Linked DNA regions of Homo sapiens: region 1 is linked to region 2. Evidence: promoter capture Hi-C in human tissues and cell types (Jung and others, 2019). All regions are on one chromosome and are shown on one strand. Each heading gives the region's core, a stretch centred on a gene start or on the middle of the fragment in contact. The rest is flanking DNA. Distances are from core to core; before and after follow the strand shown. Region 1 overlaps DNAH5 (dynein axonemal heavy chain 5). Region 2 holds the start of DNAH5 (dynein axonemal heavy chain 5).

Region 1 (2,988 bases), core at 70-2,569, 190 kb after region 2:
AAAAATAATCTTTTCTCAAATACTTCAGAAAGAATATGCCTTCTAGTCATCCCATGAAAGTCAATATTAACACTTTATAAATTTAAAAGGGAAAAATTTGGTTTCAAAAATGATTTTAAAGGATCTAAATTTCTTAGGCATGAACTACTTTTTTACATCTCATCTTTTGCTAATATTGCTTTTGGTTAAGTCTTTTGATTCTATCTTAATAGCTTCTTTAAAATAAACATTTTTAATTAGTCACAGCTCAAGGTATCAAATACGCTTTCCAGAAGGCAAGAAATATATGAAAGTGACAGGAACAATGTCAAGACCACCACGATACACAAAACGTAGATATTTATATTCAGTAAATAATCATTTTACATCCTTTATTACTCCTCAACAGTGATGAGTCCTGCTAGGCAGATAGTTCTAAATATTGTTTTTTTCTACAACTCTCAATATTAGCATGTTTTATAATTTACCTATATACATTTAATATTACAGTGTTCTGATCTAGGTAGACTATGGCCTGTGGGCCAAATCTAGCCCACTACCTATATTTGGATGGCTTGTGAAATAAGAGTAGGTTTTACATGTTTAAATAGTTTTAAAATAAGTACATGAACAATAATTTTGATTTTGCCTCTTGGCCCAAAATATTTACTATCTGGCACTTTAAAGAAAATATTTGCTGACCTCCTTTCTAATGAAGTGTAACTTTCTGCTTATACACATTTATGTCAAGTTCACATTAAGATTTGTTCAGGACTTAATGTGATTTGAAAGGATTCTGGAGCGGGAACAAAGCAAAGGTATAAACATGTGACGTTAGCTGAGTTCTCAGACCCTGAAATGCAGGATGTTTTGAGGTTGGCTGCCCATCTCTTCACTCTGTGTGTGTCCTGTGCAGGCCAACTTGGTGGTGCAAGAGAATCGCCATCTCCTGGCCATGCAGGATCTGCAGAAAGCCCAGGCCGAGTTGGATGACAAGCAGGCGGAACTTGACGTGGTGCAGGCTGAGTATGAACAGGCCATGACTGAAAAGCAGGTAACTGCCCTTTGTCATGGCAGGGACTGTCACATATCTACACGGCTTCTCTCTCCAAGAGTTTGGGTTCTTGTGGGGTTTCACTGAATTTATACATAATACATACATAGCACATAATGGACACCAAGGGTCTTTGATGAGACAACAGGATGGTCAGTCAAGATGGCTGTCAGTGCTGGAACATAGCCATTCTGAGTTTCTTTGTTAGTGGTGTTGGTAGTGATGACAGCATCTTGTGTACTAGCATTTTTGTTATGTTTTTCAAATCATGTCCTCCCATTTTTATCTCATTTAATCTTTGAAGTAACTTGCAAGGTAGGCAGGGTGGGTTTATTTATTTATTTATTTATTTAGACAAAGTATTGCTCTGTCGTCCAGGCTGGAGTGCAATGGCATGATCATGGCTCACTGCAGCCTTGAATTCCTGGGGTTAAGTGATCATTCCACCTCAGCCTCCCAAGTAGCTGGGACTACAGACATGCACCACCATGCCTGGCTAATTTTTTGTAGAGACAAGTTTTCACCATATTGCCCAGGCTGGTCTCGAACTCCTGAGCTCAAGTGATACACCTGCCTCGGCCTCCCAAAGGTTGGGATTACAGGTGTGAGCCAAGGCACCCTAGTGCCTTACCTATCTTTGTTCTCACTTTAGAGCATTCAAGTCAAATGCCTAAAGAGATCACAGAGGAAAAGTACCTGAGTTTCTAAGTAACCAGGATCTTGTCACTTTTTTTTTTTTACTTTAAATACATACTGATTTTTTTTTTTTACAAAGTGGTCTCTCTAGAGTATATAAGCTTTTGGCTTAATAAAATCTGTATCTGCCTCTGATAAATCCAATATTTGGTAAATAATAGCTAGATTCACTCTGTTTTACCTTGATAATTTTATGAAATTCACCTCTACCCCTTCTCAGCCTTTACTTGGCCGAATTGAAATTCCTGCCTTGTTAGTTTTGTAGGGGTCCCAATAAAAGAGTTTAGATAAACATTTCAGTTTCAATATCTGCAGAATGTATGATATAATGTCTTAAAGATAAGTCTTCCACAAGCAAAGTAAATGCTTTTGGAAGCTTTAAAGAAGTAGCACTTTTGAAAAATGTCTGTTCATGTCCTTTGCCCACTTTTAATGAGATTTTTTTTAAATTGTGAATTTCTTTAAGTTCCTTATAGATCCTGGATATTAAGATTTTTTCAGATCCATATTTTGCAATAATTTTCTCCCATTCTAGAGGTTGTCTCTTCACTCTGTGGATAGTTTCTTTTACTGTGCAGAAGCTTTTTATTTTAATTAGATCCCATTTGTCAGTTTTTGCTTTCTTTACAACAGACACTTTTCAAAAAAAGACATACATGCGGCCAACAATCATATGAAAACAAGCTCAGTATCACTGATCACTAGAGAAATGCACATCAAAACCACAATCAGTTACCATCTCACACCAGTCAGAATGGCTATTATTAAAAAGTCAAAAAACAACAGATGCTGGTGAGATTGCGGAGAAAAAGAATGCTTATACACTGCTGGTCAGAGTGTAAGTTAGTTCAACCATTCTGGTAGATAGTGTGGCAATTCCTCAAAGACGTAAAAACAGAAATACCATTGACCCAGCAATCCCATTACTTGATATATACCCAAAGGAATATAAATCGTTCTGTTATAAAGCCACCTGTGTGAATATGTTCATTGCTGCCCTGTTCACAATAGCAAAGACATGGAATCAACTTAAATGTTCAACAGTGGTAGACTGGATAAAGAAAATGTGGTACATGTACACCATGGAATACCACGCAGCTATAAAAAAGAATGAGATTGTGTCCTTTCAGGAACCTAGATGGAACTGGAGGCCATTATCCTTAGCAAACTAACACAGGAACTGAAAAACCAAATGCCACATGTTTTCACTTATAAGTGGGAGCTAAATGATGAGAACACATGGACACATAGACGGAAAC
Region 2 (2,730 bases), core at 159-2,658:
GACAGAGGATTCTTGGGATGGATAGGAGATGCCATGTGAGGAGGATCCGATCCTACTGCTATTTTCTGGTGTCTTCAGCACCACACAGAGAAGGGACTCAGAGTCTAGATACTGTCTTCAACACTTTTTATTAGAAACGGACAACAGCCGCTTACCAACAACCAGAGGTTGACTTCAACAAATATCCTGCAGGGCCTGGCCTGGTGGCTCATGCGTATAATCCCAGCACTTTGGGAGGCCGAGGTGGGCAATTGCTTGAGGCCAGGAGTTTGAGACCAGCCTGGGCAATGTGGCCAAACCTGTTTCTACAAAAAATACAAAAATTAGCCGCGTGTTGTGACACTTGCCTGTAGTCCCAGTTACTAGGAAGGCTGAGGTGGGAGGATCACCTGAGCCTGGGAGGTTGAGGCTGTGGTGAGTGGTGGTCACGCAACTGCACTCCAGCCTGTGTGACAGAGTGAGACCTGCAGGTCTCAAAAAAGAAAAAAAAAATCCTGCAAACAAACTTAAACTTCCTGTGTTCTAGTTATTTACTTACCAAATAATATTGAGGTCTAAATGTTGTCTGTTAACCTGACATATGGAGGCCGTCCGTGCCCTAGCATTGGATATGGACCAAGTGAATCTCCATGTTCTGAAACCATGTCAGCACCCTGCCTTCCAAGTCAGGCTCCACAGAGGTTGACTAGCAGGATGTTACCAGGATGAGTTCCCAATTTCCTGATTATCCTTGGATGACCTTTTAGGATTTGAGTTGCTGGACTGTGAATTCCAAGGACTAAATTCTAGATTCAACAAGACCAACCTTAAGTGTCCTGCCTTTTATTCAACTCGATGGGAGAAACCATACATGAGAGATCTCTCAAAGCATTTGGCAGTGTTTTCCCATTACATCTTCACAGTTAAGATGATCAAGATGTTTAGCCACATAGGATAAATTACCTTGGCTGAAGTGTATGTGCAACTGTGTGAGCACAAGTAATTTATGGACATGGTTTGCTATTTGCATATGAAACAGACTTCTTGTTCTTTGTGGTGGAGAAAATGGCTCCTATGGGTCACAATTAGCCTATCTGGCAATTAGTCACAATTAGTCACAATGCTGGCAGTGCATCGTGCTTGCAAAGTTGTTTACACAAAGTAAGACTGAGTTTCTCGACATGGACAATATATTCAGAGCTGTGGCTTCTTGGATTTCTAATCTGATATGGTTTAAAGTTTCTCATTGTTCAAAGAAACTATTTAGATATCACTGTTGACTCAATGCTTATTATTGGGCAGTGAATAGAATTAATTGAACAACAGAAGGAGTTGTGTTGCTACCGAGCAGTTAAAATGCTTTGATTGCTTGATAAACATGATTAAGAGGCATGGTTCAACTGTATAGTGTATAAACAATATTACCCTAACAACACCAGGCTTCGAGAGAGAGGAGAGGCCCAGGGCAGACACTCTAGGAGAAAAACTTGAGTGGTATAAGTGGAGTTTTAATTTTTATTCTGTGAATGTAGTGAATAATACATGCAAATTAGAAACGTGAAAGTAAAATGGAAGTAAAACTTTCCATTTGGAAGCCTGTTGGATGTTGAGCAGGTCTGCCAGGAGTTAGAAGACCATTCCGGAAGAGCTGACTCCAGCCTGTCCATGCACGGCTACAATGTTTAGGATTGGGAGGAGACAGCTCTGGAAGCATAGCGTCACTCGAGTTTTAACGGTAAGGTGCTGTTGTCTGTACCTTTGCATGTGTGTTTTGGATTATCATCTGTCACACCTGGGTGGAAAAAACAAACTTGAAAAAGGTTCAAAGTCACACACTGATGAATTTGCGAGAAACACATTTTTTAACTAATGTTCACCTGGTGCATAGGCTACATATTCATTTTTTAAATAAAAAAAATTTTGCATCTGTAGGCTTTTCTGCACGTTGCCGCTTAAACTACGCACCTAGAAATTCATGCTGCATCTTTTGGGAAGATGCTTTCCTGGGGTCAAAAACACATTCATAGTGGTTTGGGCACTTTGTATTCTTTCAAACCTGTAAACTTTAGTTGGTGATTAGAAATAGTTAAGGCAGATTCTAGGCTGCAAGGTTTAGGCTTTGAAATCACTCCCCTGTTCTATATGCCTGCAAATGAGGTCACAGACAGTGAGATGCAAGGCTGTGCCTTTGGAAATCACATTGAAGAATGAACTTCCCTAGCACAGGGCTCAGCTCAGCAGCTTTTTATTATGCAAATGCATAGAGAGGGATTTGGAAACCTCTTCCACTGCCAATTAACGTCAGAAGAAATTGGAGGTTTCTCTAGGACTCAGTTCTCAACCATTAACCCATGCTTCCTACTGGGCTTGATCACTGTGTCTTTTTGTGTATCCCCAGAAGCTCACATGATCCCCCCTAGCCTGTTGTTTTTACCACAAAAGAGCAGGCATCTACCTCTGAATTTTTTAAGTATGCCACCATCTGCCACCCCTCACTTGCCCAAGCCACAAGATTCTGATGCATCCTTCCCAAGGTGAACGTCTTGCAGCCAAGCCCCTGAACTTGCTTGCTAGAGTTAGAAGACCATTCTGGAAGAGCTGACTCCAGCCAGTCCATGCACTGCTTATTCTTCAAGACCAAGTGCTAGTGTTACCTCCTCTGAGAAGCGTCCCCTGACACTTTGAGGAGGAGGTGTGAGTTTCCTTCCTGTACCCTGTCAGCACTTTCCTTCGATGTCTTATAGAGTCCTT

The links. Contacts are between HindIII fragments. The study calls those that stand out against the background at their distance.
Region 1: a fragment that was not itself captured here is called in contact with the fragment with the promoter of DNAH5 in region 2 in 1 of the 25 tissues and cell types used here (H1 embryonic stem cells).

The regions. Positions count from the first base shown.
Region 1 is chr5:13,756,891-13,759,878 of GRCh38, reverse strand. DNAH5 (dynein axonemal heavy chain 5) reads left to right here. Exons shown (of 79, transcript NM_001369.3): 61 at 896-1,033. Among named protein-coding and RNA genes, the nearest start is that of DNAH5-AS1, 100 kb to the left of the region's middle. The HindIII fragment of the contact is 3,083 bases long and covers 1-2,860 here.
Region 2 is chr5:13,943,366-13,946,095 of GRCh38, reverse strand. It overlaps DNAH5 (dynein axonemal heavy chain 5), which reads left to right and starts at 1,408. Exons shown (of 79, transcript NM_001369.3): 1 at 1,408-1,714. The coding sequence starts at 1,658. The HindIII fragment of the contact is 17,200 bases long and covers 1-2,730 here.